Linked DNA regions of Homo sapiens: region 1 is linked to region 2. The links are contacts of gene promoters, found by promoter capture Hi-C in blood cells and fetal thymus (Javierre and others, 2016). All regions are on one chromosome and are shown on one strand. Each heading gives the region's core, a stretch centred on a gene start or on the middle of the fragment in contact. The rest is flanking DNA. Distances are from core to core; before and after follow the strand shown.

Region 1 (6,458 bases), core at 3,959-6,458, 520 kb after region 2:
TGGGAGGCCAAGGCAGGTAGATCACTTGAGGCCAGGAGTTCAAGACCAGCCTGGCTATCATGGCGAAACCCCATCTCTACTTAAAATACAAAAATTAGCCAGGTGTGGTGGTGCACACCTGTAATCCTAGCTACTTGGGAGGCTGAGGCAGACGAACCACTTGAACCCAGGAGGCGGAGGTTGCAGTGAGCTGAGATCGTGCCATTGCACTCCAGCCTGGGCAACAGAGCAAGACCCTGTCTCAAAGAAAAAAAGAAAAAGAAAAACTACCTATTGGGTACCGTGCTCATTACATGGGTGATGGGATCAATCGTATTCCAAACCTCAGTGTCACACAATTTACCCATATAACAAACCTGCACACGTACCCCGTGAATCTAAAATAAAAGTTAAAAAAAACAAAAAAAGAGGCCGGGCACAGTGGCTCACGCCTGTAATCCCAGCACTTTGGGAGGCTGAGGCAGGTGGATCACGAGGTAAGGAGATCGAGACCATCCTTGCTAACACGGTGAAACCCCGTCTCTACTAAAAATACAAAAAATTAGCCGGGCCTGGTGGCACGTATCTGTAGTCGCAGCTACTCAGGAGGCTGAGGCAGGAAAATCACTTGAACCCAGGAGGCAGAGGTTGCAGTGGGCCGAGATTGCGCCACTGCACTACAGCCTGGGCGACAGAGCGAGATCCGGCTGAGTGCGGTGGCTCACACCGGTAATCCCAGCACTTTGGGAGGCTGAGGCTGGCGGATCGCTTGAGGCCAGGAGTTCGAGACCAGCCTGGGCAACATGACAAAACCCTGTCTCTACAAAAAAAAATACAAAAAATTAGCCAGGCATGGTGGTGTGCACCAGTAGTTCCATCTACTGGGGAGGCTGAGGTGAGAGGATCATCTCAGCCCAGGAGGTCGAGGCTGCAGCAAGCTGTGATTGCGCCACTGCACTCCAGTCTTGGTGACAGAGTGAGACCCTGTCTCAAAAAAAACAAAACCAAAAACACCAAAAAAAATTTTCTCCATAGGCACTTCAAACCTAAAACTTCCCAATCTTAAACTCTTGATCTTCCTCCCAGAATATGTTCCATCTCAAATGTTCTGCTCGAAGTAAACAATACCTCCAGGCCAAGCACTGTTATTTTTTCATTTTTGTTTGTTTGTTTTGTTTTGTTTTGTTTTGAGACAGGGCCTGGCTCTGTCACCCAGGCTGGAGTGCGGTGGCAGAAATTCAGCTCACCACAACCTTTGCCTCAGGAGTTCAAGTCATCTTCCCACCTCAGCCTTCCGAGTAGCTGGGACTACAGGCGCACGCCACCATGTATTTCTTTCTTTCTCTCTCTTTTTTTTTTAACGACGTAGTCTTGCTATGTTGCCCAGGCTGGTCTTGAACTCCTGGACTCAAGTGATCCGCCCACCTCTGCCTCCCAAAATGCTGGGATTACAGGTGTGAGCCACCACGCCTGACCCTAATCCATATTTCAATGCCCATCTGCCTCCTCTATAGATTGCAAGCTCCATGAGGAGGGTGCACCTGTCATTCAAGGTTGCATCCTCATTGCCTAGGGCAGTGCCTGATACATCATCCGGTTCAGTAAATATCAACGGAATGAGTTAAAACAGGAAAGCTTATTAGCACAGAAACCAAAGCAGCACACATGCCCTCTTGAGATTGACAAAATTGTGCTGTAGTCCTGCGCTGCTTGTTGTTAAGTGACTTTAGGGAAGTCATCGTGGCCATCTACAGATTGAGGAAATCAACGTAATTATCTCTGAGGTCCCTCCCAAATTCTCATGTGTAGTTGACATCTGTTATCTATTGCTTATATGTCACTGAATTGGCAGGTATGCATAAATAGAATTTGCATCTAACTACGAATACGATTGTTTATATTTTCTTTAAAAAAATATTGGGCTTTTGTTTCTCATATTGAGAGCTCTGTTATGCCATTTTCGAATTTCTCCCAGATGTCCCCCCCGGCCCACCTTCAAACTCTGCTTCCTTAGACAGATTTGGCAATAGCTTTGTAAGTGATATGGACATAATTGCCTAAAATAATGAAAACCTACAGGATTCTTTTTTCATTTTCCCTTTGGCATGTTTACAATTCCCTGCCCCACCAGGCAGATCATTCTGTGTGTGTGAGTGTGTGTACCCATTACAAAGACAACTACTATGTTCATAACATATTCGATTTGGAAAAAACAATTGTAGGCTGGGCACGGTGGCTGACATCTGTAATCCCAGCACTTTGGGAGGCCGAGGCGGGCAGATCACGAGGTCAGGAGTTCAAGACCAACCTGGCCAACATGAAACCCCATCTCTGCTAAAAATGCAAAAATTAGCCAGGCCTGGTGGCATGCTCCTATAATCCCAGCTACTCGGGAGGCTGAGACAGGAGAATCGCTTGAACCCAAGAGGCAGAGGTTGCAGTAAGCCGAGATTGTGCCATTGCACTCCAGCTCTGGGTGACAGAGCAAGACTCCATTTCAGAAAAAAAAAAAAAAGAAAAAAGAAAAAACAATTGTTTTTGAAAAGTGATTTGTAATGTCTTTCACAGAGACTAAATGAAGAGTATGTTTTGATACTTTTTAAAATATAATTTCATCTTTTTAGATTCTGACTCATGTGCACATGAATGTACCCATGTACATGGGTATATCTTGTGATGCTGAAGTTTGGGGTACAATTGATCCCGTCACCTGGGGTACAGTACCCAATAGGTAGTTTTTCAACCCTTCCCCCCTCTAGTAATCCCCCGTGTCTATTGTTCCCATCTTTATGTTCATGAGTACCCAGTGTTTAGCTCCTACTTATAAGTGAGAACATGCAGTGTTTGGTTTTCTGTTCCTGCAGAAATTTATCCACTTAGGATAAAAGCCTCTAGCTGCATCCATGTTACTGCAAAGGACACGATTTCTTCTTCTTTTCTTTTCTTTTGTTTCTTCTTTCTTTCTTTCCCTTCCTTCCTTCTCTCTTTTCTTTCTCTTTCTCTCTCTCTCTCTTTTCTGCATCCATGTTGCTGCAAAGGACATGATTTCTTCTTTTTTCTCTCTTCCTTTCTCTTTCCTTTCTTTTTTTCTTTCCTTCCCTTCCTTCCCTCCTTTTCTTTCTTTTACTTTTTCTTCTTTTGTCTTTCTTTCTTCTTCTTGAGTCAAAGTCTTGCTCTGTTGCCCAGGCCGGAGTGCAGTGAGTGGTGTGATTTTGGCTCACTGCAACCTCCGCCTCCCGGGTTCAAGCAATTCTCCTGCCTCAGCCTCCTGAGTAGCTGGGATTACAGGTGTGTGCCACCACGCCCAGCTAATGTTTGTATTTTTAGCAGAGACGGGGTTTCACCATATTGGCCAGGCTTGTCTCAAACTCCTGACCTCAAGTGATCCACCCGCCTCGGCCTCTCACAGTGCTAGGATTACAGGCGTGAGCCCCATCTCGTTCTTTCTTATGGCTGCGTGTTTTGATACTTTCAAATTACAAGGACTCAGTGAAGGCTATTCGTTGCCTTGAACTTCCCAAAGCATTTCCACAATCGATGGGGTTCTCAGTAAGAATCCGGGACTTGGAGGGCAGATGCTGTCAACATCCCCATTTAACAGATGTGGAAACTGAGGCCTAGACCTACGTTCTTGTCCCTTTACAGGCAAGGTCCCTGGAGGAAGGGGTTCATCTAGAGGCTCATACAGATAAACTGGAATGTACAGTAAAGTTTTGGCTGCCTGGGTTCATATCTAAACTCTGCAGCCTCAGGTCTCTTTCCACTATTAGAAAATGGGGAGAAGGCTGGGCGCGGTGGCTCACGCCTGTAATCCCAGCACTTTGGGAGGCCGAGACGGGCACATCACCTGAGGTCAGGAGTTTGAGACCAGCCTGGCCGACATGGTGAAACCTCGTCTCTACTAAAAATACAAAAAAAAATTAGCTGGGCATGGTGGCGGGCGCCTGTAATCCCACCTACTCCAGAGGCTGAGGCAGGAGAATCGCCTGAACCCAGGAGGCGGAGGTTGCAGTGAGCCGAGATCATGCCACTGCACTTCAGCCTGGGCGACAGAGTGAGACCCTGTCTCCAAAAAAAAAAAAAAGAAAAGAAAAGAAAATGGGGAGAATGTTAGCACTTAATTTCCCAGTATTGTGAGACTTAACATATGTCAGCCTGGGCAGCATAGCAAGACCCCACCTCTACCAAAAATTTAAAAATTAGCTGGGCATGGTGGCTGGGGCACGCCTGTGGTCCCAGGTACTAGGGAGGCTGAGGCAGGAAGATCACTTGAGCCGAGGAGATTGAGGTGGCAGTGACCTACAATCGCGTCACTGTACTCCAATTAAAAAATAAGTGTCGGGCCAGGCGCGGTGGCTCACGCCTGTAATCCCAGCACTTTGGGAGGCCGAGACAGGCAGATCACGAGGTCAGGAGATGGAGACCATCCTGGCTAACACCGTGAAACCCCGTCTCTACTAAAAATACAAAAAATTAGCCGGGTGTGGTGGCACACGCCTGTAGTCCCAGCTACTCAGGAGGCTGAGGCAGGAGAATCGCTTGCACCCGGGCGGCGGAGGTTGCAGTGAGTTGAGATAGCACTCCAGCCTGGGCGACAGAGAGAGACTCCGTCTCAAAAAAAAAAAGTGTGGCTCTCAATAAATGAGTTGTTATTTCAGTGGCAAGCCCTGAAAGGGGGTCTACAAAGGCCCAGTGGGCGAGGCTGAGGAAATGCCTGGACACGACCCTTCTCATGGCATTCCCGGGGCGCCCGCATCAGCCCCTACCCACTCCCGCTCGGGGACTTTCTCGGAATCGCGCTTCTTCTTCCAGCAGCCTCGAGGCCGGCCCCGTCCAGGTCTCTTTAGCTCCGCCCCCTGGTGAGGGGCGTGGCCTCCTCAGGGCCGGGGCGTGGCCCAACCGGGAACTGGGGCGTCGAACTCCCCTTCCCAGTCTGGAGCCACCCATTCCAGGCGGGGCGGGAGGCTGATCACGTGACCAGCGAGCGGTCTCACCCTCCTCATATGCCAGTACCACCTCCTCCAGTCCCAGAGGGGGGATGTCTTACTCCTTTCCGTGAAGCAAACCCTTTGAGTACGGTTTGCGTCCACAAAGCGTAGGGTGAGAACCTTGGGAGCGACTGGGCCCGTCTTTGCTCCCTCGGTGGGGTTTTGTCTCCTGGCTTCCCCCAAGTGCGAGGCAGTTGGTCTCGCCCAGCCGGGTCCTGGGCGCGGCGGCGGCAGCCGCGTCACTGGCGGGCGGGATCCCTCCGCTCTGGGGAGGCAGCGCTGGCGGCGGGGCTGGGGCCACTGAGGAAATCCATCCGCGCCGCCGCCGCCGCCGCCGCCGCCGCCGCCGCCGCCTCCGCCGCGGAGGAAGACAGCGCCGCCCGCGCACCGCCAGCGACCTCCGCCGCAGAGTCCCACCGCCACAGGTACCTTCGCTGGCAAAAGGAGTCCTCTCGCCCCCCAGCCCCAATTTCCCCCAGGGGAACCTCTCTTCCTTCGGTCTCCCGGGGCTGGCCTCCTGGGAGCGGACGTAACTCCCCAGACCTCCGCTCCCTTCCCCTCTTGCCCGGTCGCTCCCAAACCCGGAAGGGGAACTGGGGAACCCTCGCCCCCCACCGTGCGTGCGCTTCCCCGCACCATCAGCGAAGTTTTTGCCCGACCCCAGACCCCAGCCCAGCCCCGACTGCCTCTTGCTCCCTCGGAAGTTGGGGGGCTAAATTCCGGGCTTCCTCTAGGCCCCGCCCCGCCCCCTTTCCCCACCGCCACCCTCCCGCCTGCCCCCGGGGAGCACCCCTCGTGTCCTCCACTGTCGCACCCCTGCCGGCCCTCGCCTTGCACAACTCCAAAATCGGGGAGAAGCAGGCAAGGCCGCGCGCCACCCTTCCTTTCGTCTCCACCCTACCCACGATTTGGGTGCTGCCCGTGGTTTCTGGCCCCACTCGCCGAAACTGGAGCCCTCGGCGCCCTATTCCCTTTACAGATCCTCACCCCAAGCCCAGCTCCCAGGCGCCCGCCCCCCGCCCAGCTTTCTTTTAGGCAAAATGGAGGTCGTAGGGGCTGGAGGGCCAGGCCCACTGCGCTTCGCAGCGCCGCACCAGCCCGCGCCTTCCAGCTGCCAGATCCAGGGACCCTCCCGTCACTCTCCTGAGCCCCGCCAGACCTGCGGAGGCGGTTGCACCCTCATTTCTCTATGGAGCGCCGGCTGCTATATCCCTAGAGTCTGGGGGCTGCTGAGGGCCCTGGGGGGTGATGGGGACCGAGGGCTGAGAACGTCGCCCCCGCCCCCAGTTTCTTCCTCCAGCCGTGCTTCCTTCTGCCCTGGGCCTCCGGCGGTGCCGCCAGGCCTGGGCTGCTAGTAGGTGGAAGAGGCTTTGTGCGGGCCTGGGGGTTGGGTAGAGTAAGGAGTTCTGCCCGCACCCCCCATCCCCCGATTTTGAGGGTCACCCCTTGGCACTGGCGTAGAAAGCTGAACTTACAAGGAGGGGAAATGTC
Region 2 (6,736 bases), core at 1,923-4,422:
CCACCGCTCTCTAGCCTGGGCAACAGAGGAAGACTATCTCAAAAAAAAAATAAATAAATAAGCCAGTTGCAGTGGCTCATGCCTGTAATCGTAGCACTTTGGGAGGCCGAGGCAGGTGGATTGCTCTGAGCTCAGGAGTTCAAGACCAGCCTGGGCAACACGGTGAAACCCCGTCTCTACTAAAAATACAAAAAAAAAAGCCGGGATGGCAACGTGCCCCTGTAGTCCCAGCTACTTGGGAGGCTGAGGCAAGGGAATTGCTTGAATCCAGGAGGCGGAGGTTGCAGTGAGCCAAGAGCGCACCATTGCACTCCAGCCTGGGCAACATAGCAAGACTCTGTCTCAAAAAAAAAAAAAAGTTGAACTGATACTTCACAAAAGATGATATCCCAAAAGCCAAACCTGTCTGAAAATGTGATCAACCTCATTAATATTTAGGTAAATGCAAATAAAAACTACAATGAGAAGCCATCGCATATCCAAAAACTTTACCCTAAAAGTGTGGCAATACTGGCTGGGCATGGTGGCTCAGGCCTGTAATCCCAACACTTTGGGAGGCTGATGCAGGCAGATCACGAGGTCAAGAGATCAAGACTATCCTGGCCAACATGGTGAAACCCATCTCTACTAAAAATACAAAAATTAGCTGGGTGTGGTGGTGCGCTCCTGTAGTCCCAGCTACTCGGGAGGCTGAGGCAGAAGAATTGCTTGAACCCGGGAACCAGGAGGTGGAGGTTGCAGTGAGCTGAGATTGCGCCACTGCACTCCAGCCTGGGCAACAGAACAAGACTGTCTCAAAAAAAAAACAAAAAACAAAAAGTGTGGCAATACCATGTGTTAATGGAGCTGGAGATAACTGGGAACTCTGACACATTGCTAGAGGAGTGTGAGTTGGTCCAACCAGTTTGATTTGCAGACCATAGATAAAAAAGATAGGAAACTCTCTGATTCATTTTATCTGGCAACCTGCTCTTTCTACCAAAAGCAGATAAAGAATATACCAAAAAGAAACTACAGCCCAATCTCATTTATCATAATAGATTTTAAAAATTCTAAATAAAGCAGTAAAACAAATGGGTAGTATAATTTGTTCCAGCAGATTTTATTCCAGAAACACAAAGATGGTTAAATATCAAGAATACTGCCACCATAATTTATTACATCAAAATCTTTTTTTTTTCTTTTGAGACGGAGTTTCATTCTTGTTGCCCAGGTTGGAGTGCAATGGCACAATCTCAGCTCATTGCAACCTTCGCCTCCTGGATTCAAGGATTCTCCTGCCTCAGCCTCCCCAGTAGCTGGGATTACAGGCATGCACCACCACACCCACCTAGTTTTTTTTTTTTTTGTTTGTTTGTTTTGTATTTTTAGTAGTGATGAGGTTTCACCATGTTGGCCAGGCAGGTCTCGAACTCCTGACTTCAGGTGATCCACCCGCCTTGGTCTCCCAAAGTGCTGGGATTACAGGTGTGAGCTACCACGCCCAGCCTTGAAATTGCTGTTTCTAACAAGTCTTAAAAGACACCCAGACTTTAACAATTGTTATTATATTCAGATTTTTTTGTTGCTTTTTGAGACAATCTTGCTCTTTTACCCAGTCTTGAGTGCAGTAGCATGATCATGGCTCACTGCAGCCTCAACCTCCTGGGCTCAAGCGATTCTCCCACCTCAGCCTCCCGGGTAGCTGGGACTACATGTGCAGTATCATGCCTGGTTAATTTTTAAATTTTTAGAGATGGGGTCTTGCTATGTTGCCCAGGCTTCTAGAATCATTCTTCATATTATTTCACTAACACAGCCTCCACCACATTAATATGGCAACAGGTTTAGAAATTATTTAAAACAAAAATTTCTAATGTTTACATATATTGTGTGATGTGTGTGTGTGTGTGTGTGTGTGTGTGTGTGTGTATCATTCCAAGGTACTGTTTCTAATTTTTTCCTGTAGGGAATGAATATTCAGTATTGCAGCTGCATTGGCTAGCTGGGGATTCTATTTACCACCACATTGTCCCGGACTGAATCTGGGGACAAAAAAACCACTTCGGGAACAAATTCTTGTCTTCAACAAAGAGCTGTCTTGAGTAGGCACAAAAGTAGCATTTGAGGGCCGGACGCGGTGGCTCAAGCCTGTAATCCCAGCACTTTGGGAGGCCGAGGCGGGCGGATCACGAGGTCAGGAGTTTGAGACCAGCCTGGCCAATATGGTGAAACCCTATCTCTACTAAAAACACAAAAATAGCCGGGCGTGGTGGTGGGCGCCTGTAATCCCAGCTACTCGCGAGGCTGAGGCAGGAGAATTGCTTGAACACGGGAGGCGGAAGTTGTATTGAGCCAGAGATCGCGCCATTGCACTGCAACCTGGGCGACCGAGTGAGACTCCGACTCAAAAAAAAAAAAAAGTAGCATTTGAGTACCTTTTTTTTCCTTTTCTTTTCTTTTTTTTTTAGAGGAAGGGCACCCAGGCTGGAGTGCAGTGGCACCATAATAGCTCACTGCACTCTGCAACTGCTGAGCTCAAGAGATTCTCCTCCATCAGCCTCCCTAGTAGCTGGAATTACTGGCGTGAGGCACCATGCCCGGCTTATTTTCTTATTTTTTTGTAGAGGTGGTTGGAGCGGGGGGACTGGGGAGGGTCTCGCTATGTTGCTCAGGCTCGTCTCGAACTCTTGCCCTGAAATGATCCGTCCTCGGCCTCGCAAAGCGCTGAGATTACAGGCGTGAGCCACGGCGCCCAGCCTTGAATAGTTTTTCACATGCATTGCACGTTATTTCCTTTTATTCTCTAGTTTTTGGGTCCAGTCTTAAACCTGGGAAGGGATTCATTTGGGGGGGTCACACCAGCGGGCATCCTGGCTCAGGCGGAACTCTGGCTCCAGACAGTGCGCCCAGGACCAAACGGTCAACCCCGGCCTACTCCCGCCCCTCCCAGATCCTCCCCTCCTCGGACGCTCCCGCGTCTTCCTCTCGCTCAGGCACTGAGGGGCGGGGAGATGGGTGTTAAAGAGGGGATATCACCAATCAACGTGCGCCTCCGGGAAACAGCGCTTCGCACTGGCTGGTTGGGTCTGACGACGTGGCCACTGTCCAATCCTCATGCTAGAGGCGGGGCTAAAGGCCAGTGGCGCAAGCAGAAGGAGGAGCGCAGCGGCTGCAAGCACGTGACCGGGGCCTGAAGCCGGAAGCTACCTATCTGGTAGGGAGCTCCCCCAGCACCGAAGACTGCGATGGTGAGTGAGGACGCATGCGCGAGAGGACCCGCCGGGGGTTCAGCGTCTCTGCTCCCCAGTCTGTGTGGTTTCCCCCTGGTGGGCCTGCGCTCCACCCTCACCTCCTATCCGCTCGGGGAGGAAGAGGGGATGGAAATGGGAGGGATGGCGACGAGAATGCTGGGGAGGGGTCTGTGGGAGGGTGTTCTGGGGCTGCGGGTAGTCTGCAGGTCGGGCGGAGACGAAGGGAGGTGAAGAGAGGGTCTGGGGGCAGGGGCCAGTGGGGCAGCAAAGGCCCCTTGGGGTAGCAAAGGTGGGATGTGGAAGGCCAGGGGAGCCCGGGGGCGAGAGTGGGGGCAGATGGAGGCTCGGGAAGATCAGTATTGAGGACCATGTAGGGGGGAGGGGGCCGGGAAGGGACCTGGCTGGGGAATGAGAAAACCTGGGGCCATCGTCAACCCAGAGACTTGGGTTTGCAGGTGAAGGGTATCGGGCCGTCCATCCCTCTAGCATGCTTCTCACGACTTGCATCTTTACCCACTAGACTTCTGCGCTGACCCAGGGGCTGGAGCGAATCCCAGACCAGCTCGGCTACCTGGTACTGAGTGAAGGTGCAGTGCTGGCGGTGCGTTCTGGGAAAGGGAGGGGGTCCCTTAGTGCACACAGCCCGGTAACCCCTTCTAATATTGGCCCTTCTTTTCTCGGCTTTTATCTGGTTTCCTGCCTGGCATCTATTAGGTTGGTACAAAAGTATTTGCAGTTTTTGCAATTACTTTCAGTAATCAGTCTGTGGAATCTTAGTCTCCTAACGGCTGCGATTTATTTATTTATAGTTTTTGAGACTGAGTTTCGTTCTTGTTGCCCAAGCTGGAGTGCAGTGGTGCGACCTCGGCTCACTGCAACCTCCGCCTCCGGGGTTCAAGCGATTCTCCTGCCTCAGCCTCCCGAGTAGCTGGGATTATAGGCACGTGCCACCATGCTCTGCTAATTTTTTGTATTTTTAGTAGAAACGGGGTTTCACCGTGTTAGCCAGGCTGGTCTCAAACTCCTGACCTCAGGTGATCCACCTGCCTCAGCCTCCCAAAGTGCTGGGATTACAGGCGTGAGCCAACATGCCTGGCCTTTATTTGGTATTTCTTAAAAAGGCATTTGTATTTTGTTCCATAGTACTGTATGGTGTTAGGTCTCTAGATTACAGGCGTGAGCCACCACGTCTGGCCTTTATTTGGTATTTCTTAAAGAGGCATTTGTATTTTGTTCCATAGTACTGTATAGTGTTAAGTCTCCAGATGTTTTTGACTTAGGTAGAGACAAAGCTTAAGGTTAAGGGTTGAAAACAATACAGGTGGTAAAGACTATTGAGGGAATCCAGGATATTAAAAATTCAACATGTTATGACAAGGTAACTAACTTTCCGGGAGGTAGGAATTCAGCCCACCTTAAAGGAGAGTATTTACAGTGGGGGAGGACTTATTTGCAGGTGTGTGGCACTAACCTATCTGAACTGATGGTAAGTTTATGCTGAAAAGATTTGGGAAGGTTTGAGGGAAGAGAGGAGGATATGGTCAGGGAGGATGTAATTGTGAAGGATCTTCAAGGCCAGGTTAACACACTTGAACTTATTCTTGAAGGTAATACAGTTTGAAAGGTTTTTTAAAACAGAAACAAGACCCAGTGAGGTGGTTGAGCAATATTGTTGTTAGTGATGTGAAGATGGGCAGAAGGAGGCGTCATTAAGAGATGAGACTGGGCTGGGCGTGGTGGTTCATGCCTGTAATTCTAGCACTTTGGGAGGCCAAGGCGGGCGGATCACGAGGTCAGGAGATCGAGACCATCCTGGCCAACACGGTGAAACCCCGTCTGTACTAAAAATACAAAAACAAAATTAGCCAGGCCTGGTGGCGGGCACTTGTAGTCCCAGCTACTCGGGAAGCTGAGGCAGTAGAATGGCGTGAACCTGGAAGGTGGAGGTTGCAGTTAGCCGAGATCACACCACTGTACTCCAGCCTGGGCGACAGAGCAAGACTCCGTCTCAAAAAAAACAAAAAAAAAAAGAGATGAGACTGGGCAAGTGGTGGTAAGAAGGAGGAGCAAGGAGAGAAGAGTTTTGTTTTTGTTTTTTTTTGTTTTTGTTTTTTGAGACAGAGTCTCGCTCTGTGGCCCAGGCTGGAGTGCAGTGGCATGATCTCAGCTCACTGCAACCTCCGTCTTCCGGGTTCAAGTGATTTTCCTGCCTCAGCCTCCTGATTAGCTAGGATTACAGGTGTGCACCACCATGCCCAGCTAATTTTTGTATTTTTAGTAGAGAGAGGGTTTCACCATGTTGGCCGGGCTGGTCTCGAACTCCTGACCTCATGATTTGCCCGCCTCAGCCTCCCACCCAAAGTGCTGGGATTACAGGCATAAGCCACTGCACCCGGCCTGTTTTTTTGTTTTTGTTTTTGTTTTTTTTGAGACGGAGTCTCACTCTGTCACCCAGGCTGGAGTGCAGTGGTGCAGTCTCCCCTCACTGCAAGCTCCGCCTCCCGGGTTCACGCCATTCTCCTGCCTCAGCCTCCCTAGTAGCTGGGACTACAGGCGCCCGCCACCATGCCCGGCTACTTTTTTGTATTTTTAGTAGAGATGGGGTTTCACCATGTTAGCCAGGATGGTCTGGATCTCCTGACCTCGTGATCCGCCTACCTCGGCCTCCCAAAGTGCTGGGATTACAGGTGTGAGCCACAGCACCCCGTCCTGTTTTTTTGTTTGTTTGTTTTTTTTTAAGATAGAGTCTCGCCGTCACTCAGGCTGGAGTGCAGTGGTAACGATCACATCTCATTGTAGCCTTGAACTCCTGGGCCCAAGCAATCCTCCCGCCTCAGCATCCCAAGTAACTAGAACTACAGGCAAGCACCACCACGCCCAGCCATTAAAAAAAAAAAAAAAATGTGTGGAGACAGGGGCCTTGCTATGTTGCCCAGGCTGGTCTCAAACTCCTGGCCTCCAGCATTCCTCCTGCCTTGGCCTCCCAGAGTGCTGAGATTACAGGCATGAGCTCCTGTGCTTGGCTGGAAGAAGTTATTTTAAAGGAGGAATCAGTATATCTTGCTAATGACTAGAAATAGGTAATAGAGGAAATATTTCTGTAGCCAGAACTCTAAAGCCTGGAAGAGTGATGATGCCTTAAGAAACATGTCCCTGCGTGGTGGCTCACGCCTTTAATCCCAGCACTTTGGGAGGCTGAGGTGGGTGGATCACTTGAGGTTGGGAGTTCGAGAGCACCCTAGCCAACATGGTGAAACCTCATCTCTACAAAAAATTAGCCTGGCATGGAAGCACATGCATGTAATCCCAGCTTCTTGGGAGGTTGAGGCAGGAGAATTGCTTGAACCCAGGAGGCAGAGGTTGCAGTGAGCCAAGATTGCACCACTGTACTCCAGCCTGGGTGATAGAGTGAGACTCTGTCTCAAAAAACAAACAAACAAACAGGAAATCAAAAAAAGAAGTGGATTGGGAAGGAGGTGGATAAGGATAAGGTGAAATTTGAT

The links. The method cuts DNA at HindIII sites, captures the fragments that hold promoters and counts their contacts. A CHiCAGO score of 5 or more calls a contact.
Region 1: the fragment with the promoter of GNB2 here is called in contact with the fragment with the promoter of LAMTOR4 in region 2 in 3 of 17 cell types (total B cells, neutrophils and monocytes); the score reaches 6.3 in total B cells.

What each region holds. Positions count from the first base shown.
Region 1 is chr7:100,668,532-100,674,989 of GRCh38, forward strand. GNB2 (G protein subunit beta 2) reads left to right here and starts at 5,209. Exons shown (of 10, transcript NM_005273.4): 1 at 5,209-5,392. RefSeq lists silencers at 4,739-4,868, 4,879-4,958, 5,209-5,388 and enhancers at 5,819-6,028, 6,229-6,308. The HindIII fragment of the contact is 20,016 bases long and covers 1,613-6,458 here.
Region 2 is chr7:100,145,746-100,152,481 of GRCh38, forward strand. LAMTOR4 (late endosomal/lysosomal adaptor, MAPK and MTOR activator 4) reads left to right here and starts at 3,173. Exons shown (of 4, transcript NM_001008395.4): 1 at 3,173-3,230; 2 at 3,754-3,834. The coding sequence starts at 3,228. RefSeq lists enhancers at 2,176-2,788, 2,813-2,872, 3,143-3,252, 3,401-4,013 and silencers at 3,553-3,642, 3,653-3,742. The HindIII fragment of the contact is 7,868 bases long and covers 1-4,523 here.